Regions from separate parts of the Homo sapiens genome. Here regions 1, 2, 3, 4, 5 and 6 are each linked to region 7. The links are contacts of gene promoters, found by promoter capture Hi-C in blood cells and fetal thymus (Javierre and others, 2016). All regions are on one chromosome and are shown on one strand. Each heading gives the region's core, a stretch centred on a gene start or on the middle of the fragment in contact. The rest is flanking DNA. Distances are from core to core; before and after follow the strand shown.

Region 1 (3,560 bases), core at 112-2,611, 440 kb after region 7:
TCTCCTCTGCTTTTCTCCCCATGGCTCATGTTCCCCCGCCACACTGATGTCCTTGCTATTTCTTTGAGAACTCAGACCGTTTTCTGCCTCACGGCCTTTGCACAGGCTGTTCTTGTTGCGTAGTCTGTTCTCTTCCTTGACATCCACATGGCCCCATCGCTCATCTCCTTCCTGTTGTTGGTCAAACGTGACTCTTTCAGGGAGGCCTTCCATGACCGTTCTCTTTAAAGTTGCACCCACCTCTTTCCGGTGCTCTTTTCTCCTTTATTTTTCTCTGCAGTACTTTGCACCATATGACATGCCTTAGGCTTTCTTTTTTTTCTTTTTCTTTTTTTGAGACAGAGTCTCGCTCTATTGCCAGGCTGGAGTGCAGTGGCGCGATCTCGGCTCACTGCAACCTCCACCTCCCAGGTTCAAGCGATTCTCCTGCCTCAGCCTCCAGTAGCTGGGACTACAGGCACGCGCCACCGTGCCCAGCTAACTTTTGTATTTTTAGTAGAGACGGGGTTTCACCATGTTGGCCAGGATGGTCTCGATCTCCTGACCTCGTGATCCGCCCACCTCGGCCTCCCAAAGTGCTGGGATTAGAGGCCTGAGCCGCCGCGCCCGGCAGCCTAATGCTTTCCTATCTGGCTCTTGTATGTGTTGCTCATCTAGACTGCAAACTCCAAAAAGGTAGGCGACTTTGTTTTGTCTGCTTCTGTAGCCCAGTACCTGGCCCATGGCAGGCACCTGATCGAGTTTGTTAAATGAATGCCTAATAAAGTAACTAGAATTTGGGAGGAGCCCTAGTGCAGCTCCAGAGGAAGATTTTTTTAGTCTCATCCTGTTGCCCAGGGTGGAGTGCAGTGGCAGGATCTCAGCTCACTGCAATCTCTGCCTCCCAGGTTCAAGCGATTCTCCCACCTTAGCCTCCTGAGTAACTGGGATTATAGGTGTGCTCCATCATGCCCAGCTGATTTTGTATTTTTAGTAGAAATGGGGTTTTGCCGTGTTGGCCAGGCTAGTATTGAACTCCTGACCTCAAGTGATCCACCGACCTCGGCCTCCCAAAGTGCTGGGATTACAGATATGAGCCGCTGTGCCGGGCCCAGAGGGAAATTTTTTTGAGGCCCTGGAAGAAAAATGGAGAGAAAATAGAGGGAAGAAGAAATACACCAATATATGATACTTGTATGCAAGACTTTGCACCCTTTTTATTTTTGGGGGGTGTTCTTGGCAAAGCCTCTAGCCTCATTGCCTACTTCATTTTATCTTTTTATTTGTTTATTTTTTAGAGATGGAGGTCTGGAGTCTCACTGATTTCCAGGCTGGTCTTGAACTCCCGGCCTCAAGTGATCCTCCCACTTTGGCCTCCCATTATTGTCTACTTTAAATGGTGGAAAAGTAAAAATCGTCTGATTAATATTTCAAAACTATGTCCTAATTGTGTATGTGTATGTTTACCTCTATTTTATGTATACTTTTATACCTATCTAGATTAAAATTGAATTGCTGTGTAAGTACCAGGTGATAATCTGGTGTTTAAATCGGAGCACTGGGATGAGTTAATTAAGATATCTGAATAATTGTTTCCTCTATCAGTATTGTTTTTGAATGAAATAGAATATATGCTAATGATATATGCTTGGTGGGCCTACTTTACCCACAGGGGTGGGGTCACCAAGTGACTAATTAACTCTCTGAGCTGATTAAAGATTTTTTTTTTTTTTTTTTTTTTTTAAGAAGGAGTCTTGCTCTGTCACCCAGGCTGGAGTGCGGTGGCGCCATCTTGGCTCACTGCAAGCTCTGCCTCCTGGGTTCACGCCATTCTCCTGCCTCAGCCTCCCCAGTAGCTGGGACTACAGGCGCCCGCCTCCACGCCTGGCTGATTTTGTTTTTGTATTTTTAGTAGAGATGGGGTTTCACCGAGTTAGCCAGGATGGTGTCCATCTCCTGACCTCATGATCTGCCCGCTTTGGCCTTCCAAAGTGCTGGGATTACAGGCCTGAGCCACTGCGCCTGGCCTGATTAAAGAATTTTAAAGAAAACCTCCTGATTGTCACCAGGTGTCTTTTTTAGAAAGCTATAAATGTCTCTTATACTTCAAAATGAAAACAAAATCCCTCAGCATTTTTAACCTCAAATGAGTGAAAACCAAACCACAATGACACAAAAAGACGATGTGAGGATCACAGAAGGAAAAGATAAATGACAGCTTTGCAAAATAGTCGGCCAGCAGAGCCCCATACTTATGGTCTATTGCATGCTGTCTGTTGTCTTTGAGGACTCTCATGTGATTTAAAAAAGATTTGAGAGGATTTGGAAGTTTTTAAAGGAAAGAAAAAATAATCTGCCAGATGGTCAATGAAGAATTCTTTCTTTAAAACAAAGTTTTATGATTACACTTGTAGTTTACTTATGCTTCCTTATTTAAGTTTTTGATGTAGTAGAACATAGACAATTACCAGTAAGTAGTCAGTCAAAATTCTGGATTGTTCTTTCATATTCCTAGTTTAGTGAGAGTTTTTAATCATCAGTGGATATCAACATTTATCAGTGCTTTTCACACATTTATTAATATAATCACTTTTTTTTTGCAATTTAGTCTATGAATATAGTAAATTATATTGCTTGATTTTAAAATATCAAACCAATTTTCATTCGTAGGATAAATATCACTTGGTCATGGTGGTCATGGTATATTTTTCTTTTCATATATTGCTAGCTTCATTTTGTTAATATTGTGTTAAGGATTTTTTTTTTTTTTTTTTGAGACGGAGTCTCGCTCTGTCGCCCAGGCTAAAGTGGAGTGGCGTGATCTCGGCTCACTGCAAGCTCTGCCTCCCGGGTTCCCGCCATTCTCCTGCCTCAGCCTCCTGAGTAGCTGGGACTACAGGCATCCGCCACCACGCCCGGCTAAATTTTTTGTATTTTTAGTAGAGTGGAGGTTTCACCATGTTAGCCAGGATGGTCTCAATCTCCTGACCTCATGATCCACCTACCTCGGCCTCCCAAAGTGGTGGGATTACAGGCGTGAGCCCCTACGCCTGGCCTTGTTAAGGATTTTTATGGTTATTGTTCATGGTCTATAGTTTTTTTTCTTCTTGTATCTGTTTCATTTTAGTATCAGAATAATTTTGGTCTCATATAAGGGACTTGGAAGTGGTGTTTTCTCTTCTATTTTCTGAACAAACATGGAGAATTGTTATTATTTCCTTATCAAATTTTTTAGAGAAATTCACCAGTGAAGTCAACTGGGCCTGGAATTTTCTTTGTAAGATATTAAGCTGTGAATTCAATATCCTTAATTGAGGTAGGATTTTTCAGGTTATCTATGTTTGAGCCTTGGTAGTTTGTGTCTTTCAAGGAATTTTCCCATTTCATATGTTATGAAACTTACTGTCATGATATTCCCTTATTATAATTTTAATATTTATAGGATCTGTAGTAACAGTCCCCTTTTAAGTCCTGCTGTCGGCAATTTGTTATTTCTTTTCCTTTCTTCTTTTTTTTTGAGACGGTGTCTCGCTCTGTGGCTCAGGCTGGATTACAGTGGCGCCATCTCGGCTCACTGCAAG
Region 2 (3,696 bases), core at 255-2,754, 420 kb after region 7:
ATTCAACACTTGTCGATTCTACCTTCATAATTTGTGAGCGTTACAATCTTGTACAAAACCTGGAATAGTTTCAGTTTCCTTATTCAACTTGTGTGGTCTCAAATTAGAGTTTAACATAACTACCTCATTTGACCCACAAGAAGAGCTTGAAGATATTAATGGGATGAATGAATGAGAACACGGTGATGAAGATTTGTGGGGAGGGATTTGCATCATGTACCTTTTGAGAGGCTGTGGAGATAGGGCTAGTGACTCATAGGACCAAGTGGAATTGTGAGTTCCCACGCTTCCCTCTGCACTGCTTCCAGACCTCCAGGAACCAGAGATGTCGCCTGCGATGCTGGTTGCAACTCTTTAGGTGCAGGTGCAGAAAACCCAACTCAGACTTGCTAAAGGGAAGAAAACAAGAAGTGCTGGAACTCAGAGTTCCTTGCAGTAGTAACAGTCAAGCCCCATTGCTCAAACAATTCCCGAGAACCTTCTTTGTCCTTCCTTCTATGTCAGCTCTCTGTCTCTGGAGATGTGCTTCCTTCTCAGGTTCCATGTAGAGCCCCTGGCAGCTCATGGCTTTAAAGCTTGCAGGTTCAGGAAAGGGAGCATCTCTTTTCCGGAATCTCCAGGAATCCCAGGAATGAGTCTTATTGGCCTAATTATGGTCAACTGGCTGTCCCTGAATGGCCACTGTGTCTGGGGGAAAGTACGCATATTGGTCAAGCTGGGAATATGGGACCATCCCTGGACACTGAGGGGTGAGTGGGGCCATACTCCTTAAGCCACAGAAAGGAAGACTCGGGTAGGAGAATGTGACAGTTAATCTTATGTGTTAACTCAACTGGGCTAATGGATGCCCAGATAACTGGCAAACCATTGCTTCTGAGTGTGTCTGTTAGGGTATTTCCATGAGAGAGTAGCATTCGAATCAGTAGATGGAGTGAAGAAGGCCCACCCTCATCAGTGTGGGCCTCATCCAATCTGTTGAGGGTTTAAAAGTAGAAGGGAGAATTTACTCTCTCTATCTGAAATGGGACATCCATCTTCTCCTGCTCTTGGATGTTGGAGCTCCTGATTTCTGGGCCTTCGGACTCTGGGACTCACAGCCTTGGCTCCTCCAGGCCTCAGGCCTTTGGACTTGGACTGAATTACACCACTGGCTCTCCCGGGTCTCCTCCAGCTTGCAGCTGGCAGATCACAGGGCTTCAAAGCCTCCAGAATCATGTGAGCCAGTTCTCATAATAAATTGCCTCCTCTATATCCATATGGGCTCTTTTTCTCTGGAGAACTCTAGTGGGGGAGGCATAATATAAAAGGAATAATCACAAAAGGCAGTAAGTCAGGGGCACAAAGGAGATGTCAGCTTGCAGACTAGACGCAAGCATGTGAAGGGTGGCTATAGACATAGTTGCAAAGCTGGGTATGGTGGCTCACGCCTGTAATCCCAGCACTTTGGGAGGCCATCACGGGTGGATCACTTGAGGTCAGGAGTTCATGACCAGCCTGGCCAACATGGTGAAACCCCATCTCTACTAAAAATACAAAAGTTAGCTGGGTGTGGTGATGGGCACCTGTAATCCCAGCTATTCAGGAGGCTGAGGCAGGAGAATCGCTTCAACCCAGGAGGCGGAGGTTGCCGTGAGCCAAGATCGTGCCATTGCACTCCAGGCTGGGTGACAAGAGCAAGACTCCATCTCAAAAATAAAAATAAAATAAAAAAAGAAACAGTGGCAAATGATGTGGAAATAGGTAGAAAGAGAAAATATGATGTTCTGCAACCATTACCAGGATAAATTTCAACCGCCCCAAAACAAAAGACAAAAACCAAAAAAGCAGCTATTGTAACACTTAAGCATTTTAGTTAGAAATACACTTTGCATGAACAGTCAGAATCAGCAAGAATGTTAGCCTTAAAGGGGCACTTTTGGAGTGGGAGGGATGTAGTCCCAAAGGAGAAAGGAAGGAAGATCATTCTGATTAAACGCCCTGCTGCTGCTGTCAGGAATGCGTTATTACTAAAACCTTGAGCATCTCCGATAAGTGAGCTCCACGACCTGCCTTGTGTATCAATGGTAACCTCTTTGTTTGAAATCATAACACATGTTGCCCTGGATGGTTATAATAATGGAGTTTAAACTGGTGGATACAGATGCTATAATTTTCACTAGGTTGTTATCCTTGTGTGGAAATTTATAGAATCCATTAAAGACACATTTCAGGGTCTACGCAGGAAGGTGGAGAAGTCTGCAGAGGCTCAGATTTATCTTGGCTCTCACACCAGTTTCTCCCCACTTCAATCCAGGTTTTGCACTGCTGAGAGAGCCGTCTTTCTCAAACCCTAATCTGATCACGTTTCTTTCCTGCTTAAAATCTCCTGATGGCTCTCAATTGCCATTAGACTTAGGCAAAGTCCAGAATCCTGAGTGAGACTGTCAAAGCTTTCTTCTTTTTTTTTTTTTTTTGGCCACATTTTCTCTGTGCCCTCCACTGTAGCCACTGCTATAGACACAAAGCCACTTTCTGTTTCCCACAATGCCCAGCTCCTGTGGGCCTCTGGGCTTTGCTCTGGCTCTTCCTCCAGCCTGGAAGGTCTTTCCTCATCTTTTCTCTCTATGGCTAACCTTAGTGCACTCGGAGACCCTCACTCCATTAAGCCTCCTAGGACAGCCACGGCAGAATTCATTCGTTCCCCACTCCTGCTGCGAGGATCACCAGACTCACCCTGAAGGAGTTGGTCACATCCCTGGCAAATGCGAGCCCTTTACAGTATCGTTTTTTGGTCTTTTGCCTGCACCATAACTAGCACCTACTAAGCACTCAATGCACATTGTGGAATCAATAAACTTCAACAAGATTAACAATGCAAAATACTTTATAGGCCGGTTGCGGTGGCACACACCTGTAATCCCAGCACTTTGGGAGGCCGAGGCAGATGGATCACCTGAGGTCAGGGGTTCAAGACCAACCTGACCAATATGGTGAAACCCCACCTCTACTAAAAATACAAAAATTAGCTGGGCATGGTGGTGTGTGCCTGTAGTCCCACCTACTTGGGTGGCTGAGAGGGGAGAATCGCTTGGACCTGGGAGGCAGAAGTTGCAGAGAGCCGAGATCGTGCTACTGTACTCCAGATTGGATAAGAGAGACAGACTCCTTCTCAGAAAACAAACAAAAAATAACAATAACAAAAACCCCAAATACTTTACAAATTGTCTGGATTTCAAATGGTTGTTTCAAAACTGTTTGGAACATGAAACTAGTTTCTATAGAAACATGCATGTGTGGGGTTGTTCTAGAGCCTGAGGTTCACCCATCAAAGCCAGATTAATTTAAGGAAGGACAGAGCTACTGAGTGTCCACCCGTGTAAAGCGCCTGGGTCACAGTGTGGTCTCAGTGACAGAGAGCCTGCCCTCCTGTGCACTAAGATGTTGACATGCGACCCAGCTCCTGATGCCTGGAATTGGTTCCAGTGGGTGTGCTGTGGTGGAGGGCCGCTGGTCTGTGGTCCACAGCAGGCAGGGATGGGACATGGGAGGGGCTCCTCATGTCACATGGAGTCAGGCCCCTGATGAGAGGCACTGGGGAAGGGTGAAGAGCCCTGCAGGATGATGCTTACTTCCCTGCTCTCTCCCTCAGCTCGATCTCCTGACCATGGTGGGGTGGGTGGCATTGCCAGGAAGGAATGGAGGTGGCCATGAGCAGGG
Region 3 (3,982 bases), core at 393-2,892, 370 kb after region 7:
TTGAGGCAGGAAAATTGCTTGAATCTGGGAGGCAGAGGTTGCAGTGAGCTGAGATCACGCCACTGCACTCCAGCCTGGGTGACAGAGCAAGAGTCTGTTTAAAAAAAAAAAAAAAGAAAAAGAAAAAGAAAAAATATATATATAGTGTTAACTGTGAACTCTTTGCTTTGTTTCTTTTCTTAATTTTTGGGTAATTAGTAAAGTTCGTATTTTTATTTTAGGGTTACTTTTATATAATCATATAATTATCTCAGAACTCTATTTCTTTAAAGAATATCTATTAGTTTCTAAGAAGAATCATAAAATTAGCTTGTTTTTTTCCCCATTTCCATTCCTCAACCACCTATTTTACATTTATTAATATTATTATTCATCATATTGTCTTAATACTATAATGGATGTTTAGAATTTACTTACTTTTTTAGCTCTAAGCTGTATTTTAGAACTGGCTATTTTGGATTAAGCATTCAATGAATTTATCCTAATTTCCATGCTTTCTTCTCACTTTCCTGCCACATTTCTACTAAACGAATCTTTTCTGCACTGTCAGGGAATATAACATGCATGTTACAGTCTACTACTTTAAACTTTAGAGTTGTTTATGTTTTAGTTCTATATAGTCAGCCATTTTTTTTTTCTGTTATTTCCCTAAGTTGGTTGGCTGAGATTCATCCTTTATTAATCTCCTCAGGAAGACTCATGGGAACAATGTTCCTTGAGTTCTTGTATGTTTATTTACTGTTAGTTATTTTTATACTTGAAAGATGAATTCTGGCGGTCACAGAGACAAACATGACTCATGTGTGTTATCCCTGCTGTTGGTTTCACTGAACCACACAGGACACCCCGCCCCTACCATTTCCACGCCCACTGTTGCAAATCGAGGGTAGGTTGCTGCAAATAAGGGATATAGTTGTTGCCTTTTGTTTTTCCCTCACCCCCAGGGAGCATGTTTTTGCTGGCGTTTTACAAGATTAACTTCCACTGTGTTTTGTTGTCTTCAATTCCTCTTGAGTGACTTTTGCCCCATTTCAGTGGCTTTTGGAAGCTTCTGTAGATAATTTGTAGTCTGTGGGTTATATCTGTCTCCTGGTTTCGCTAAAAAAATGGGGTTTATAAAAGTGGCTTTGGTTCTCCTTGCTGCTTCTTTATGATTTCCAGGAGGAGAAGGGGAGTATGCTGACTCCTAAAGCTTTGTTTGCAATGACATTAAGTGGTAACTATATAACTTTTTTTTTGTTGAACTTTTGGATATTTGCTTCTGATTTTATTGCTTAATGGTCAACGAACATGGTCAGGATGACATTGACTCAATTACATTGGTCGAAAATTCATGAACAACTTAAGAATGTGATCAATTTTTGTAATTGTTCCCTGTATAATGTACTTGAAAGGAAAATTCATTTATAATTATTGGGTGCAGGGTTCTATATATGCTCATTAGATTAGGCTTGTTTATTGTTTTGTTTATACTTTTTGAATCTTTTTTTTTCTGCTGGTTATATCACTTGGTAAGAGACATATATTAAACTCTTCAGTATGACTGTAGATTTGACCATTTTTCCTTGGAATGTTTTCAAAAACAATTCCATGTTTTGAGGCTATATTGTTAAGGCCACACGAGTTCACATAAGTTGTGATCATCTTTGTGGTGAATTGATCCCTTCCTCCTTATACAGCTCGCTTTAATCCTTCTGTGTTTGGAATTGGTTCCTTCTGGTGGGTTCTTGGTCTCACTGACTTCAAGAATGAAGCCACAGACCCTCACAGAGAGTGTTACAGTTGTTAAAGATGGTGTGTCCAGAGTTTGTACCTTCAGATGTTCAGATGTGTCCAGAGTTTCTTCTTTTTGGTGGGTTCATGATCTCAGTGACTTCATGAGTGAAGCCACAAACCTTCGCAATGAGTGTTACAGCTCTTAAAGGTGGTGCGTCCGGAGTTGTTTGTTCCTCCCGGTGGGTTCGTGGTCTCACTGATGTCAGGAATGGAGCTGCAGACTTTCCTGGTGAGTGTTACAGCTCATAAAGGTAGTGCGGACCCAAAAAGTGAGCAGCAGCAAGATTTATCGCGAACAGTGAAAGAACAAAGCTTCCACAAAGTCGAAGAGGACTGACGGGGTTGCTGCTGCTGCCTCAGGTGGCCAGCTTTTATTTCCTTATTTGGCCTCGCCCACATCCTGCTGATTGGTCCATTTTACAGAGTGCTGATTGGTCCATTTTTACAGAGTGCATATTGGTGCGTTTACAAACCTAAGCTAGACACAGAGTGCTGATTCGTGCAATTTTACAGAGTACTGATTGGTGCTTTTACAAACCTTTAGCTAGACAGAAAAGTTCTCCAAGTCCCCACTGGACCCAGGAAGTCCAGCTGGCTTCACCTCTCAGTAGGCTATTAGTAGTTATGTTTTGGGGGAGTCAAAAGTTATAAGTGCATTTTTGACTGCCCAAGGGATTGGTACCCCTAACCCTCCATGTTGTTCAAGGGTCAACTGGTCTTGGTGGCTCATGCATGTAATCCTGTAATCCCAGCACTTAGGGATGCAAAGGCAGAAGGATCTCTTGAGCCTAGGAGTTTGAGACCAGCCTGAGCAACATATTGAGACCCCTTTCTTTACGGGCGCACACACACACACACACACACACACACACACACACACGACTTAAGAATATTTAACTCTGATTAGGCTGGTCGCAGTGGCTTGTGCCTGTAATCCCAGAACTTTGGAAGGCCAAGGTGGGCGGATCACGAGGTCAAGAAATCCAGACCATCCTGGCCAACATGATGAAACCCCGTCTCTACTAAAAATACAAAAATTACCTGGGCATGGTGGCACGCACCTGTAATCCCAGCTAGTCGGGAGTCTGAGGCAGGAGAATCGCTTGAACCCAGGAGGCGGACCTTGCAGTGAGCCGAGATGGTGCCACTGCACTCCAGCCTGGGCGACAGAGTGAGACTCAGTCTCAAAAAAAAAAAAAAAAAAAAAAAGAATATGTATCTCTGATTAATAACTTCCTTCCTTACGTAGTATTTTCTTCAATATTTAGTTCCAACGTGTTTTTAATTTCCCCCAATTTATTATTATTACTTTTTGAGATGGAGTCTCACTCTGTCGCCAGGCTGGAGTGCCGCGGTGCGACCTCGGCTCACTGCGTGGGCAACAAGAGTAAAACTCCGTCTCAAAAAAAAAAAAAAAAAGTTTGTTAAGCAAGGATCTGTGAGTTGCAGATAGTCTCTGATGTGTCTTTATTTTCCCTTCACTCTTTGATGATAGTAACTGGGTGTCAACTTTTAGGCAGTTGCTTATTGTCTCTTAGCCTTTTATTGATTGGTTATTTTCTGATGTTTGTTAATCTTTGTTCTTTGCAGATGTTCTACATTTTCCTTTCCAGTTGTTTTAAATATATTCTGTTTGCATTTCCTGTACTAAAATTTCACAGTGAAGTTACTCAATGAATACTTATTTTTACCTCTTGGGATGCATATTAGCTATCTGTTGCTGTGTAACAAATTACCCCAAAATTTAGTGGCTTAAAACAACAAACATTTATTAGTTAGCTGTTTTTGTGGGTCAGGAATCCAGTCATGGCAAGCAGAGCTGTCACACCCTCCTCAGGGAGTTGGAGCGCTTCACCATCCTGGCACATCCATGTGTGCACTGACCAGGAGGAAGCTGCGCTGAGTTGGTGTTCAAAGACTTTACTGGGGCTTCATTGACTCAGTAAATCACTGGCTGCCCGATTGAACTTAATCTCCAGCCTCTTCCCGGAGGTCCGGCAGCTGAAAGTCCCAACCCTATATCTACCTGCTTGGTCTTCCTGGTGATAGCCCCATCATGAAGGGGGCCTAGGCTGAGTCACCTCATTAGCTTAACAAAGGCACTTGTACTGCTCAGAAAATTCCAAAGGTTATTGAAGCTCTGTGTCAAGAACTGGGGACAATAGTAGCTCTTTTGGAGGATATTCTTCGGATTCTCATTTTAGAT
Region 4 (3,782 bases), core at 458-2,957, 330 kb after region 7:
TCAGACGTAGATTTGGTCTTTTCATGTAGTCCCATATTTCTTGGAGGCTTTGTTTGTTTCTTTTTACTCTTTTTTCTCTAACTTCTCTTCTCGCTTCATTTCATTCATTTGATCTTCAATCACTGATACCCTTTCTTCCACTTGATCGAATCGGCTACTGAGGCTTGTGCATGCATCACGTAGTTCTTGTGCCATGGTTTTCAGCTTCATGAGGTCATTTAAGGTCTTCTGTACAGTATTTATTCTAGTTAGACATTCGTCTAATCTTTTTTCAAGGTTTATAGCTTCTTTGCGATGTGTTCGAATATCCTCCTTTAGCTCAGAGAAGATTGTTATTACCGATCGTCTGAAGCCGCCTTCTCTCAACTCATTAAAGTCATTCTCCATCCAGCTTTGTTCCATTGCTGGCAAGGAGCTGCGTTCCTTTGGGGGAGAAGAGGTGCTCTGATTTTTAGAATTTTCAGCTTTTATGCTCTGGTTTCTCCCCATCTTTGTGGTTTTATCTACCTTTGGTCTTTGATGATGGTGACGTGCAGATGGGGCTTTGGTGTGGATGTCCTTTCTGTTTGTTGGTTTTCCTTCTAACAGTCAGGACCCTCAGCTGCAGGTCTGTTGGAATTTGTTGGGGTCTGAATGTGGGTGTGAACATCTCTTCAAAATCCAGCTTTCTTTTCTGTTCTTTTCTTTTCTTTTTTTTTTTTTTTGAGGTGGAATCTCACTCTGTCACCAGGCTGGAGTACAGTGCACTCACTGCAACCTCTGCCTGCCAGGTTCAAGTGTTCTCCTGCCTCAGCCTCCCAAGTAGCTGGGACTACAAGCACATACCACCATACCCAGCTAATTTTTGTATTTTAATAGAGATGTAGTTTCACCATGTTGGCCAGGATGGTCTCGATCTCTTGACCTCGTGATCCACCTGCCTCTGCCTCCTAAAGTGGTGGGGTTACAGGTGTGAGCCACCACACCCAGCCCAAAATCCTGCTTTCAATCATTTTGAATATATCCCCAGAAATGGTATATGGTAATTTGTCATTTAATAGTTTAAAAATATTTCTTAAGAGGAGATGTTCTCCACATGTCTCAATAGCCGATAATGAAAGGATCCTCTGGATAAAACAGAACCCTGGATGTTACTATTACATGTGAAAACAAATACCGTTATTGTATTTTGATAGTCTTCTTGGCCTCTTTCCTCTTGGTCTCTTTAATCCTTAACAATTCACTAGTAAAAAGGAGATACAACAAGTCAACCAGGTAAGAATAACATAAATAATGACATCTCAGAGAGCAGCATTGAATCTCACAGCTCTGAAGTACTGAAAATGGCCAAACAAAAAATGGGTAGGAAATGGAAAGATTTAAAAGAAAAACAGTGGAGAGAGAATAAAAACACTGCCTTGAGATTGTGGAGGAAGGTGGTATTTATGATCCCATTGAAAAATTTTAGGTGATTTTTAAAATTTAAAATCTGAATCAAAAAGTACTATCAAAGTGCTTTTGAACAGTGCCCTAGGTAGAGCTCTTCCCTGAAACCATTGCGGGATTGCCTGAGTGATGAAAGGCCATCTTCATTTTCTCTTCTGGGGCAGAAGCACTGAACAGTTCAGCTGTGTTTTTAAATTTGTGGGTTTTTTTCTTTTAATTTCAATTTTATTTGGTGGTGGGTTTCATCTATATTTTCTAGAAGAGAAATTGCCTAGATAACACTCAGGCTAATATAAACTCCCTTTAAATTCTTTTTTTTTTTTTTTTTTTTTTTTTTGAGACGGAGTCTCGCTCTTTTGCCTAGGCTGGAGTGCAGTGGCACAATTTTGGCTCACTGCAACCTCCGCCTCCTGGGTTCAAGTGATTCTCCTGCCCCAGCCTCCCGAGTAGCTGGGACTACAGGTGCCTGCCACCATGCCCAGCTAATTTTTGTATTTTTTGTTAGTAGAGATGGGGCTTTACTGCGTTGGCCAGGCTGGTCTCAAACTCCTGACCTCGTGATCCACCCATCTCAGCCTCCCAAAGTGCTGGGAATATAGGTGTGAGCCACCGTGCCCAGCCAACCCCCTTTAAATTCTAATCAAAGGATCAGGGCAGCAAAAATTTTATTGGTTTGAATAAACTGTAATCAAAAATTGTTTACTGGTTACAAATTTTTTTTTTCTTGAGATGGAGTTTCACTCTTGTTGCCCAGGCTAGAGTGCAATGGCACAATCTCAGCTCACTGCAACCTCCACCTCCCAGGTTCAAGCAATTCTCCTGCCTCAGCCTCCTGAATACCTGGAATTACAGGCATGCACCACCATGGTCAGCTAATTTTGTATTTTTAGTAGAGACGGAGTTTCTCCATGTTGGTCAGGCTGGTCTCGAACTCCCAAGACTTCAGGTGATCCGCCTACCTTGGCCTCCCAAAGTGCTGAGATTACAGGTGTGAGCCACAGCACGTGACCTCTGGTTATAAAATTAATGAGGAAATTATCAGAATGGAGACTATGAAAGTTCAATCTAATCAGGTCCTGATATTAGACACATTGGATTACAGACCACCCTTATGACCTCATTTAACCTTAATTACCTCCTTAAAAGTCCCATTTCCAAGCAGTCACATTGGGGTTAGGTCTTCAACATACAAGATGCGGGAGGAGACACAAATCAGTCCCTAACCCCTGCCTATTAGTATTTTCATTTAGTTCATGACCTTGGAGTATATATTTATATTTTTGTACCACAAGACTAGCATGTGAAATATTCAGTGACTACCATCCTTCAATATACTTTAACGCCAAAACTATCTGGGGAGACAGTAATCCCAGCACTTTGGGAGCCTGAGGTGGGCAGATCATCTGAAGTCAGGGGTTCGAGGCCAGCTTGGCCAACATGGTGAAACCCTGTCTCTACTAAAAGTACAAAAATTAGCCGGGTGTGGTGGTGCAAACCTGTAATCCCAGCTACTCGGGAGGCTGAGGCAGGAGAATCGCTTGAATCTGGGAGGTGGAAGTTGCAGTGAGCCAAGATTGTGCCACTGAACTCCAGCCTGGGTGACAAGGAAGACTCTGTCTCAAAGTAAGCCTGACCAAGAATGATGGTGATTGTCCCCACTCCCAACCCCAATCTATTCTTACTGCTGTAGCCAGAGTGGACTTATACAAACACAAATGAGATCACATCACTCCTCTGTTTAACGTCCCTCAATGACTATGCTATCCTCAAGGAATATGCAGATCCTTACTGCAGCCCGTGAGGCACTGCATGACTTTTTCCTCATGGATTCTCCAACCTCCCGTCTTGGCTCTTCCTCATGTCATTATCTACTCAATGTTCACCTCTCTTGCTCACTGCAGGGTACCCAAGCCTCGTAAGTGCTTGTGAATAACAGAGGTTCACTAAATTTTGTTGCATTATTGAATGATGAGAAAAGAAAAGGCAAAGCCACTTAGAACAGAGCTCTGAAGGGCTCCAAACTTTATGAGTGAGGTGGAGGAGGTATAATAGGCAAGGGATTGTAAGAGGGAGTAGCCAGGAAGGTAGGAAGCAAACCAGAAGGGTGGTGGTGAGGAAGGCAAGAGAAGGTTCTGTTTCACAGAGAGGGAGGAGGTCACAATTTCAGATGTGGAAGGGTCAACGAAGATAAGGATGAAAAATGTTCATCATTTAGCTCTCACATAGAGGGGAACAATACATACTGGGGCGTTTCAGAGAGTGAAGGGTGGAAGGAGGGGGAAGATGAGGAAAAACAACTAATGGGTACTAAAGTTAATACCTGATTGATGAAATCGTCTGTACAACAAACCCCCATG
Region 5 (3,703 bases), core at 587-3,086, 360 kb after region 7:
CAAGTTCAAATTTGAGAGAACCTTACTGTGGACCACAAAACCTGCCCACCGATATGCATCTTTGAAATAAATAACTAATGATAATGTGTTCAATAATGACCTGCCTTTAATTAATGCATTAAAATAGTAATAAGCAGAAAATCTTTATTTCGAATGTAATGTATCTTCTTATAAGCAGAAAAGCCCTTATTTTTTCAGCATGTTCATATTACTTTTATAAAGATGTTGGATTTCATGTGAGGGCAGCCAGTTCTTATCCTTGTGTATTTATCTCCATGGCTCATTCCTTATCCAGCTGCTACTGAAAAGTCCTGGAGTTCAGATGGATGATTTTGTAAGGTATAAGTAGCCACCCTTAGGGAAAACAAGGCAACTGATAACTGTAGTGAATATGGTAGCTGAAAGACCACAATCTATTTAGCCAACTTGTGTCCGACAAGGGCAAGTAGACAAGCTTTTCAGTGTTTAGAATAACAGGGGTCAAGGTTACTTACTCAAATCGTCTCCTGGAAAGAACACAGACTTTGGACTTAGAGCTGCCCTCAGATCTTGGTGTTGACACTTGCTGCCTTTAATAAACTACTTATTCTCTTAGAGCCTCAATTTCCTTGTGAAAATCATAAAACAGGCTAAGATTTTTTTATGTTTACTATGCATAAGGAGCTGTACCTTGTAATTATCTTTTTTTTTTTTTTCTGAAACGGAGTCTTCCTCTGTCACCAGGCTGGAGTGCAGTAGCGCGATCTTGGCTCCCTGCAACCTCCGCCTCCTGGGTTCAAGAGATTCTCCTGCCTCAGCCTCCCGAGTAGCTGGCACTACAGATGCACGCCACCACACCCAGCTAATTTTTGTATTTTCAGTAGAGACGGGGTTTCACCATGTTGGCCAGGATGGTCTCAATCTCTTGACCTCGTGATCTGCCTGCCTCAGCCTCCCAAAGTGCTGGGATAACAGGTGTCAGCCACCGTGCCCTGCCCCAATTCCACTAGTTTAAGTAAATTTCTGACAAAGACTATATTTATTCCTGGATGCGTCTTTACAGCAAGCAGAACAGATGCTTGTGCAAGCTCCGCCTCCTGGGTTCATGCCATTTTCCTGCTTCAGCCTCCCGAGTAGCTGGGACTACAGGCTCCCGCCACCATGCCCGGCTAATTTTTTTTTGTATTTTTAGTAGAGGTGGGGTTCACCGTGTTGGCCAGGATGGTCTCGATCTCCTGACCTCGTGATCTGCCCACCTTGGCCTCCCAAAGTGCTGGGATTACAGGCGTGAGCCACCGTGCCCGGCCTGTACTTTGTAATTTTCATGTTATGTCACAGTCAGTTCCCACAAAGTCTATATAAGCTGATAAGTGTATCCCATTTTTCGGATGAGGAAACAAAGACCCAGAGGAACTAAATGACTGTCCCAAGTTCTTGCTATTAATAAATTACAGAATCAGCAATGGAACTCAGGTCTTCCGGCTCTGAAAACCGTACTCTGAAGACTGCATTACACTACTTCATTCCCCAAACTGATAAAAATAAGATCAACTTTGAGGGGATTTAAAATAATATGGTGATATATGTTAAATTTACAAAGCAGTGCCTGGCCTAAAAGGGTATGTTCAATAAAAGTTATTATTATTGATTACTTCAGGAAAATCATGAATTGCACATAATATTGAACAAAATGATGATTGCTGTTTATTAAGCACAATACGTGCCAAGCTTTCTGTTAAGTGAATATATGCACTATGACATTTACTGCTCATAAAAACTCTATTATGCACATTTTTAAAATTATCTTCCTTTTTAAAATAAACAAAAATTGTGGCTCAGAGAGATCAAGTGCCTTGTACAAAGTCATGTTACACAGCAGTGGGAATCAGAACCAGGCCTGTGGATTCCAAAGCCCAGCTTTTCTGTTTGTTAGTTTTTATATTTAACCACTTTGCTGTGTGGCCTTCCTAAAGAGGAAAAGCTTCTGACCCCCAAAATGAACCTGAATTTTGGAACAGGTACGTGTAAATTTGTGTCAGAGGGCCCATTTTAGGTAAACATACTTGATGATGCAGATGAAATATAAAAACACTCTCAGAGATGAGACAGCTGAGCAGGAAAGGAAATACTTTAAACCAGGAAATGGAGAATTAATTCATCTGGAGGAAAAATAACTCCAAATATATATTTGATGAAACACAAAAGCTTGCAAGCAGTGTAGAGAATCTTGTTAGAAAGATTGATTTTGGCTTCTTCCCTTCTGTTCATTGCATCTGAATAATCACTACAATCTCATCTATAAATGGTAAAATTCCTAAATCAGGTGTAACCGAAATCTCCATTTTGTAAACTCTAAATTAATTCCATAAGACATTTTAGTGCCATGCAAAGTTATTGACGTCGTATCTAATTCTATTTGGTCTTTCCATCAACCATAGCGTTTTTCTTGCTTCTAGAGATAAATGCCATTATAAAATATTTAGAATTCTATAGTGTCTCATTGGGAGTTTCACTTGAGGGCGGTTGCCTCCCAGGGAACTGTGTGGTGCTCTGATGAACCCCATCTTTCTATCTGTAGTCACTGCACAGCTCCCCAAGCTCCCCCTGGGGTGGTCCCCTCAGCCGGAAATGTCCCCACCTCCTCCGGCCTCTGCTTATCAGCCTGTGCTCGTCATTCAGCATGAAACCTCCAGGTCACGTCTGCAGAGAAGCCATCCCAGAACTACCCCCAGTGGAAAGTTCCTCTGTTACCTGCTCTGTGGCAGAGCCCACAACATAATTAATAACATGTCATGTGACAAAGCTTCATGTCATTTTCCCTGCCTTAAGGGCAAAGGCTGTATCTGCCTCACTTTCTGCTGTATCCCCAGAGCCTGGCCAGCTTTATTTAGGTTAAAATATAAGAAATCACTGGTATTTCACTGTCCTTAGTCTACAAAAGCGGCAATGTCATATGAGTCAACCAAATACTTAACATTTAAAGGATGCTTTTTGCATATTTTATGACTGTAGGAATATTTGCTGCAACCTATTTTAGATTTCAGCCCATCTGCCTCCAGCCCTATCTCCTGTTTCTTAAAGAGGAAGATAGGGGGTCTTGGGGTGGTGGTTAGACTATATAGAGGACAAATAGTCTTCCTCCTAAAGTTGCCTCCAAAGTTATTTTCCAGTTTCTGGAATTGAACAACTAAGGGCAGTAGGTAATTTTGGCAAGTCCCCCAGCAATCAGTCAAATTGACCTGATGCTGAAGTCAGGGCTGGAGCTTCATTAAAGCAGAGAAAGATTAAGTGACTGTGGGTAAGCTCCTGAATTCTCTGCACCAACTGGAGTAGTAAATAACCGATCACATGTCTTTGTTTCCTCCAATATTTTGGAAAGAAAAAGAAATTGCTAATTATTGATTTCCCCCCTGAAATTTCACTGATCAATAGAAACTTGAGTGATAGCCAGAGTTCACTCTTTAACTGTGGCCAGTCTCAACAAGCATCATTCATTAAGATGACTGCCACAGTCATGCTTCAAACCAGGAAAAAATAACCTCAAATGAGAAATTACTGAAGGTCACAATGAGGTTACAGACACATAAGAAATGGAGACGTAATCGTGATTGCAAAAGGACCTAGGACTGTGGACAATTCTGGGTATTGCAAAGCTCAGGTTGCCTGATGATTTGGGGGGAAAAACAACAATATGGGAAGAAACTTAATCTCCACAGTGTCCTGA
Region 6 (3,660 bases), core at 129-2,628, 460 kb after region 7:
GCAGATTCTCCCCTGCCCACCCTACCACCTCTTCTAGTGCCTTTGCGCCAGGCCATGGGAGGTCATGGTCAGGTGCGTCCACCTCTGCAAGGAGTTGTGAGCTGCACTCCATGGGCACCTAGGCACCTGTATGAGTCTGCACTCACCACATGTAGATCCCCATGCCCCCAGGAGAGTGACATTAAATAGGAAATAAGCACAGGACTAGTAGAGACTGTTGAGCAAAGGACAAATGTTCCTGCTTTATGAACAAGAGCCCCTGCCTTTCTATTTTGCACTGGGTCCTCTTCTGACTTCCAAGCAGATGGAGTAGACTGACATTTCAATTGCTCCAAGATGCGAATGTGCCCATGATAGTCCACTCAGGCTGATGTAACAAAATACCGCGGACTGGGTATATTCTAAACAACAGATTTGTTTCTCACATTTCTGGAGACTGGGAAGTCCAATATCAAGGTGCCAGCAGATGGGGTGTCCAATGAGGGCTGCCTTGCTGCAATCTTACCTGGCAGAAGAGCTTGAAGGGCCGGTTGGCCCTCAACCTGACTACAGCACGAGAGTCAGGGCAGTGGCAGCTGGCTCAGAAGCTTGCGTTCATGCATCTGGGAGTCCAGAGCTCCAAGTGGTACAGACAGAATGGTAGAGACGGAGAGAATGATAGAGAGAGAGTTCTCACTCTGTTCTGCTTCCTAAATCACCTCCCTCCAGGAGATTCTGCACTGTAGGAGGGAGGTGGTTTAGGCAGAAGAACAGAGTGAGGACTCATAATCACAGCACCTCTTGTGTTCTAGGGACTCTTGGAAATGCTGATTAGGATTCATGCTTAACTTCAGGACTTGGCCTTTTTTTCAGAAGAAGGAACCCGGGGCATGATATGGTTAAATAAGTTGTCCAAGGAACAGAGTGACAGACCTGAGATTTGAGCCCTGGGAGCCTAACTAGTGCCCAGACCAGTTTGGTCGGGGAGACCCTAACCCAGCGGCGCTAGAGGAATTAAAGACACACACACTGAAATATAGAGGTGTGAAGTGGGAAATCAGGGGTCTCACAACCTTCAGAGCTGAGAGCCCTGAACAGATTTACCTATTTATTTATTTATTTATTTATTTATTTATTTATTTATTTTTGAGATGGAATCTTGCTCTGTCGCCCAGGATGGAGTACAGTGGCATGATCTCAGCTCACCACAAGCTCTGCCTCCCTGGTTCATGCCATTCTCCTGCCTCAGCCTCCCAAGTAGCTGGGACTACAGGCACCTGCCACCATGCCCGGCTAATTTTTTGTATTTTTAGTAGAGATGGGGTTTCACCGTGTTAGCCAGGATGGTCTTGATCTCCTGACCTCATGATCTGTTCGCTTCGGCCTCCCAAAGTGCTGGGATTACAGGCATGAGCCACTGCGCCTGGCAGAGACTTCTTAGTTGTCCAAAACATCCTTTATTTCAGCCCTTGGTGTGATGAATGATTTTTGAGGAATCAGGGAAGAAGGAGAAATTTCTTAAACTCTCTTTGCAAACATTTTCCAGCAGGATCATTCCCTAAAGAGTTGTAGAAAGATGGTGAAGAGCCAATCAATGTTCCCCTAGAAAGTTCTTTGCCAATTTAGTCATTTATCTATGCTTCTATTTCCAAACATTAGGAGGCAGTCAGATACTTGTTTAAAGTAATTCTATGGTTTGTCAGACTCGTTTAAGGATTTTCAGATGATAAAAGCACACATTCCTGCAAGCAATGTGGCCGGGGAGAATATACATGCAGATGGATACATCTGTCTTTGCACTGTTTACCTGCAGGAATGTGTGGATTGTGCAACCCTCGTGCCAAACTAAATGATCAAATAGGGGCTTGTGGCACCTGTAAATTCCTTTCTGACTTTTGCTCCCCACCTTAAACTGTTTAGGACAATAGTGCTCAAACCATAAATGTTCCATGCTTTGTTTTCTCAACATTGATCAATTATGACTAATCTAATAAATTAAATGTATTTTTCTCTTATTTACACTTCAGCTCTATTGGATTTGTTGAATGGGAAAACCATGAGAAATCTATGTAGCATTCTTTTCACCCAGATATATTAAAAAGCTGCCATTGATATCAACAGGTATAAAACTATATTAGGGGTGGTGGGTGGAGGTGTTGTCTGCCCTCCCAAAATTTGAATCCAAGCTTAGCCAGAAAAAGCTGTTGTAGAATCCTGCTTCATCATTATCAGGTGCTACCATTTGTTGAAAAGTGCCATGTTTCAGATCCTATGTTAAAGATTCTAGAGGCGTTATCTCATCTTTTTATTTTACAAATCCTCCTATGAGGAAGTAATTTTATCACAGTTTTACAGATGTGGAACTGAGGCTTAAAGTTTCAGTAAGTTACCCAGCAAGAGGTTTCCTGTTTTAGGTCTACTCAACAAAAGAGAAAATCTGAGGGTTTTAACAAGTGCTCTGCTGTTTTTGTTCATGCCACACTCTCTAATATGCCAGGAGAAAGAAATTTTTATTGAGTGCCCTTTATATACCAGGCAGTGTGAGGGTCACTGCCCATATGACCTCATTTTAATTTTCACAACCATCTTTGGAGATAGTATGGAGAAACTGAGGCTCAGTACTATTTGCCTAATACAAAAAAAGCTAGTGAGATGTGATGCTTTGAGCTACAGCAAGGCAGGGGCAGGGGTGCAGTAGAAGAAATGAGAGAGGACAGAGAGATCAATCATTGGCAATTCTTCAGAGGTGGAGGGGGTGGTGGGCTCTTGATGGAGGTATGGGAGCTTCTGTTCATTTCTGTCCTTTTATCATCTCTAGTCTCACCTCCCAGTGAGATAAAAGATCCAATTTTTAAAGAAATTCAAAGTCATCTTCCCCTGGTGAGCTGCAGAAGCCTTGTTTATTCTCCTCTCCAATTCTTCTCCCACTTGAACCTACACTACTTTGAGGGCAAGGCTGATCCAGGGAGCAGTCCTTTCTTATAGATACTTAATAATATAAGAAGTAGGAGGAGTGAGTCGTTGATGGTGACCTGCCATCATGAAAGATGCAGCCCATCACAGGAAAGAACCCAGACTTACATGGAGTGGAGCATGGGCACAGAGGCCAGAAGATGGTGTAGAATCCATTGGGTCATCCACTCGTCCCTGTAGTACCTGTTTCAGACAGGCAGACACACACACACACATCCCTTCCTTCTTACTTTCCAGTCCCTTTTCCCTTATTTTCTAGCTCTTCTGTTCTATTGAGGGTACTGGCTTAATCTTGTTTCTTGTGGGCAAGTCCTGTTTTCTTTGAATCTGTACCATGTTCAGAACTTGAACCCCTCCCAAGCTATACTAATCCCTTGTGTCTTAGTCAAGTTGGGTGGCTTTAACAAAATAGCGAGGCCTGGGTGGCTTAAATCACAAACATTTGTCACAGATCTGGAGGCTGAAGTACGAGATCAAGCCATCAGCAGATCTGGTTCTTGGTGAGTTCTCTCTTCCTGGCTTGTAGACGGCTGCCTTCTTGCTGTGTTCTCACATGATGGAGAGAGAATGAGCTCTGGTTTCTGCTCTTCTAAGGACAGTAGTCTCATTATGGGGGCTCGACCTTAAGACCTCATTAAATTTAATTACTTTTCAAAGGCCCTACTTCCAAATACCATCACATTGGAGATTTGGGGTTTAACATTTGAA
Region 7 (3,597 bases), core at 182-2,681:
ATGATGTGGAAGTAAAAACTTAATCATGATAAAAATCATACATTTAGACAAACTTGGTGGAGTTACCATATAAAGGGAAAAAATTAGCCTGAATTATTGAAATTTTTAAATGAGGCCCATTTTAAACGTCAACTACCAGGAAACCATGACCTGGAACAGTATCTTTTTTTCTTTCCAAGGAGACACTTACAGACACTGGTTTAAATGGAGGCCCTGGCCTCTCCTAGTTCCTTCCCCCCAAACAACTTCCAACTGGGGCCATCAAGGGTCGATCAGCAGTGCAACTGCAAACTAAATATAGTACCTGACTGACCACAGGGTAAAAACAGCTGCTGTAGGTGGAAAAAAAAAAAGTTAAAAAGACAAAATGATACCGTCCCATTTCCCCATGCCACCCTAACCCTACCAAGAAAAGTAAAAGAGGACTAGGTGGACATTAGGAATAACCAAGAATAAAGCTGTTCTTTCAAACTGAGAAATAAAAGAAAAATTCACCTTTTTTTTTTTTTTATAACACTTCAAATACCTACTGTTAAAGAGGGCCTTCCACTTTTATGGTTTGTTTCTCAAGTTTAATCTACGAATCCAATCTCTACAGAGAAACAGTAACAGAAAGAAAGTAATCAGACAACAGATCACCCACACATTCAAGCCCAGTTAAAGTTGGCAAGAAATGTATCTAGTTAGGCTTCTACGGTTAACAAATGTATTCATTTCTTCGCCCAGCTTTCACTTGTCCAGGGGAAAGAACACAAGACCGAATTGTACTTCTGTTTCAAGAGGTCACTGTAAAAGCGCACTTCGGAGTGTAGACGTCTCCGATCTGTTCCAACATGACCACCTCTTTGGACCAAAGGCCAGAAACTGCTAAACGCGTGCCCTATTATTTAAAACGTGCATCTGCACCCACTTTGCTAAGCAGCATCAGACCCAGGCGAGGGGCGGGGAAAGGGGCGGCGGGTCCCACTCGTAGCCTCAGGACGACGCAGCCACAGCTTCCTAGAGAGCGATCTCGGCAGAACGGCAGGAAGCATGCGGAGAGGAAGGCGGGGAGGCGGCACGTGCTCTCCGTGCTGGGTCCGCCGGGCCGGCCGGGTGACCCTCGCCAGCTGTGGGGGAGCGGAGAGGTCCGCGCCCCCGGGAGCTCGGGTGGACGCCGAGACCCGGGAGCGGGAGGCGGCTCACCTGGACCCCGGTGTAATTCTCGAAGAAGAAGAGCACCATGCTCTGGTAGACGCAGTAGAGCCGGTCGTCCAGCGCTTGGTAGAAGCGGGCGGGCAGGAAGGCGGAGAGCAGCCGCCAGACCCCCCAGGCCAACACGTAGGTGGGCGCCGTGCCCAGGAGCACGACGCTGGGCAGCAGGTAGCGCATGGAGTACGTGTGGAGCACCAGGGACAGCAGCATCTTCTCAGCTCGGCGGCAGCGAGCTCCGCCTGCGCTCCCCGCCCGCCTCCCGGGCCTCAGTCGCGGCCAGCAGGCGGCCAATCACCGCCCGGGCCCGGGCCGCCGCGCCCGCCACCCGCTCCCAGCCTCCGCCCCCAGCCGCATGGGCCGCGCCGCCGCCCGGGGCCGGGTAGGCGAGTGCGGGGCTGCGTGCGCCGCTCCCGGCGGCAAAGCAAGGGAACCCGCGGCCCTCCCGGATCGATGGCTCAGGGATGCTCACACCCCATGACCCTCACCCATCGCCACATCCCCCTGCCGGGGCAGGGGGCTCCGCGGCAACAACGCGCCTTCTGATTGGTCGCCCGTTGCCATAGTTCCACCTCGGCGGCAATAACACGTCTCTTGATTGGTTGGTTTGGGCCGACAGTTGCAGTACAGCTACCTGCTGGGGCGCGGGCAACCCGGCTCCGGCCACTGCGCATGCTCCCCAGCTGGGCCGGCTGCGGACGCGGGAAGGGAGGTGGTGGCGACTGACGGAACTGGGTGAAGGTGGGTGCTGGCCGGAGGAGGGTCCGGGTGCCTCTTGTTCTGCTCCCTCGGGCCGGACGTGCGCGCGGTCAGGTTTAAGGGTCGCTGGAGCTGCCTGGAACGCGCACCTGCTGCTCACAAGCCCCTGGGCGCCGGGATGCACACAATTAGAGCAGTGAGAAAGTGGGTGTTAACGTTATCGGAGGTCTAATTCTTGCAGGCACCTGGGCCCAGGTTGTAGGCAGCTCGGCCCAGGTCGCGGGGCAGCTCGAGTGTCCCCATCTGCTCACTGCCAGTCCTTTGCAAGGGGACGCCGCCTCCTCAGCCTCCGCTCTGAGTGCGCAGCAGCCCCTCCTGCCCGTCTCTCGCTACCAGGGTGTTTCAGAATTAGGGTCCGTGTTTTTCCCCATCACAGTAATGATGATAATTACATGTTTATGCATAGCTGAAGAACAATCCCACAAGGATATTTCCATACTGTTTATTAGACCTTTTCAGAATTCACTCTTGCTTCATTTCCTCAGAGTCTGTTGGACTTGTTTCTGATTTTTTTTTAATAAGGAGCCTCGTTTTTTTCTGTAGTAATTAAAGTAGTTGCGTGCACATGTGTAATCCATAAAAAGCATACTTTTGTAGCCTTCACTAAAAGCTACGAAGGGTGGATAACTGTTTTATTGATGTTAAAGCAGATCCACAGGACTTTTGGATCTTTCTCCTCCCCTTTGGCTGTGGTAAAAATGGTTTAATATGTAACCCTTTTCAAGGATAGTTGTACTTTAAAAGAATGCCGAATGCTTTACCATATATATATATATATATATATATATATATATATATATATTCCCGCCCCCTCCCCACCACCACCATAATGGGAGCCTGTGCTACCTTTAGGCAGGACGGTATTTCAGTGGGAAGTTCTAATCAGGGCCAGGATGGTAGCTACTTTCTTTATACATGATTAACATCAAATAACAACATCATTGGTAGATGATGACCTTTGGGGACAAAGCCAGGTGAATGGAGATCTCTCAAGTAACAAGTATTTGAAGGCCAGCAGGAAGCATTACACAGTAAAAGGAGCTTCTCTCTTTCTGTGGCTGTCATTGTCCTGTACTGTAAGAAGCACTAGGTTTAGTACTGGTGGAAAAAAGTCACAGGTGTGGACAGTGTGCACAACTAATGCTCCTTATGCTTTCTTTAACTGAGACCAGACATCTCTACACTAGAACAGTGTGCGAAAAGATAAAGCAGGTTCTGTGTTCACGTTAGGATTGCTGTGTATAAAGTCAGTAAATATGTGTTTATGTGTAAATTTGTTGTGAATCACCCCAGATTACTGTTAGTCACGAAGTTGTAAACTTTTGTGCAATGTTTGCCATGAAAACACAGAACTTAACTTTCTCTTGTTCCCTCTTTATCTCCAAACCCAGCTCCTGACTATCAGTTATTGTCTGTCCTGCTCCCGCTCCTCTCTTCCTGCGAACAGTCACAGATCCACCCTCTCTTTCTGCCACTACCCGGCCCTGTTTTTCTGTTTTTTTTTTTTTCCCTTTTTCCGTGCAAACCTCTTAGTTGATAATCAGCCCACACCCTCTGCCTCCTTACCTTGTACTTTTGTTGAGCCCTTGCAGTCTGATGACCTTTTCCTCCCCTTTACTGGAATGGTGCTTCTTTCAGAGCACAGCT

Evidence for each region. Contacts are between HindIII fragments. The CHiCAGO score rates a contact against its expected background, and 5 or more counts as called.
Region 1: a fragment that was not itself captured here is called in contact with the fragment with the promoter of AGPAT5 in region 7 in 2 of 17 cell types (M0 macrophages and M2 macrophages); the score reaches 7.1 in M0 macrophages.
Region 2: a fragment that was not itself captured here is called in contact with the fragment with the promoter of AGPAT5 in region 7 in 1 of 17 cell types (monocytes); the score reaches 5.7 in monocytes.
Region 3: a contact is called between a fragment that was not itself captured here and the fragment with the promoter of AGPAT5 in region 7, in 1 of 17 cell types (total B cells). The highest score is 5.7, in total B cells.
Region 4: a fragment that was not itself captured here is called in contact with the fragment with the promoter of AGPAT5 in region 7 in 2 of 17 cell types (fetal thymus and naive CD8 T cells); the score reaches 8.5 in fetal thymus.
Region 5: a contact is called between a fragment that was not itself captured here and the fragment with the promoter of AGPAT5 in region 7, in 2 of 17 cell types (fetal thymus and monocytes). The highest score is 5.0, in fetal thymus.
Region 6: a contact is called between a fragment that was not itself captured here and the fragment with the promoter of AGPAT5 in region 7, in 1 of 17 cell types (M0 macrophages). The highest score is 7.4, in M0 macrophages.

Annotation. Positions count from the first base shown.
Region 1 is chr8:6,267,116-6,270,675 of GRCh38, reverse strand. No RefSeq gene overlaps it. Among named protein-coding and RNA genes, the nearest start is that of MCPH1-DT, 140 kb to the left of the region's middle. The HindIII fragment of the contact is 4,880 bases long and covers 1-3,560 here.
Region 2 is chr8:6,283,607-6,287,302 of GRCh38, reverse strand. No RefSeq gene overlaps it. Among named protein-coding and RNA genes, the nearest start is that of MCPH1-DT, 120 kb to the left of the region's middle. The HindIII fragment of the contact is 1,854 bases long and covers 578-2,431 here.
Region 3 is chr8:6,331,775-6,335,756 of GRCh38, reverse strand. No RefSeq gene overlaps it. Among named protein-coding and RNA genes, the nearest start is that of MCPH1-DT, 73 kb to the left of the region's middle. RefSeq lists an enhancer at 3,626-3,982. The HindIII fragment of the contact is 896 bases long and covers 1,195-2,090 here.
Region 4 is chr8:6,379,395-6,383,176 of GRCh38, reverse strand. No RefSeq gene overlaps it. Among named protein-coding and RNA genes, the nearest start is that of MCPH1-DT, 25 kb to the left of the region's middle. The HindIII fragment of the contact is 4,168 bases long and covers 1-3,782 here.
Region 5 is chr8:6,349,807-6,353,509 of GRCh38, reverse strand. No RefSeq gene overlaps it. Among named protein-coding and RNA genes, the nearest start is that of MCPH1-DT, 55 kb to the left of the region's middle. The HindIII fragment of the contact is 253 bases long and covers 1,710-1,962 here.
Region 6 is chr8:6,247,659-6,251,318 of GRCh38, reverse strand. No RefSeq gene overlaps it. Among named protein-coding and RNA genes, the nearest start is that of MCPH1-DT, 160 kb to the left of the region's middle. The HindIII fragment of the contact is 1,578 bases long and covers 590-2,167 here.
Region 7 is chr8:6,706,476-6,710,072 of GRCh38, reverse strand. It overlaps AGPAT5 (1-acylglycerol-3-phosphate O-acyltransferase 5), which reads right to left and starts at 1,431. Exons shown (of 8, transcript NM_018361.5): 1 at 1,186-1,431. The coding sequence starts at 1,404. MCPH1-AS1 (MCPH1 antisense RNA 1) reads left to right here and starts at 1,864. Exons shown (of 5, transcript NR_125386.1): 1 at 1,864-1,932. RefSeq lists silencers at 1,038-1,277, 1,338-1,677. The HindIII fragment of the contact is 5,238 bases long and covers 1-3,597 here.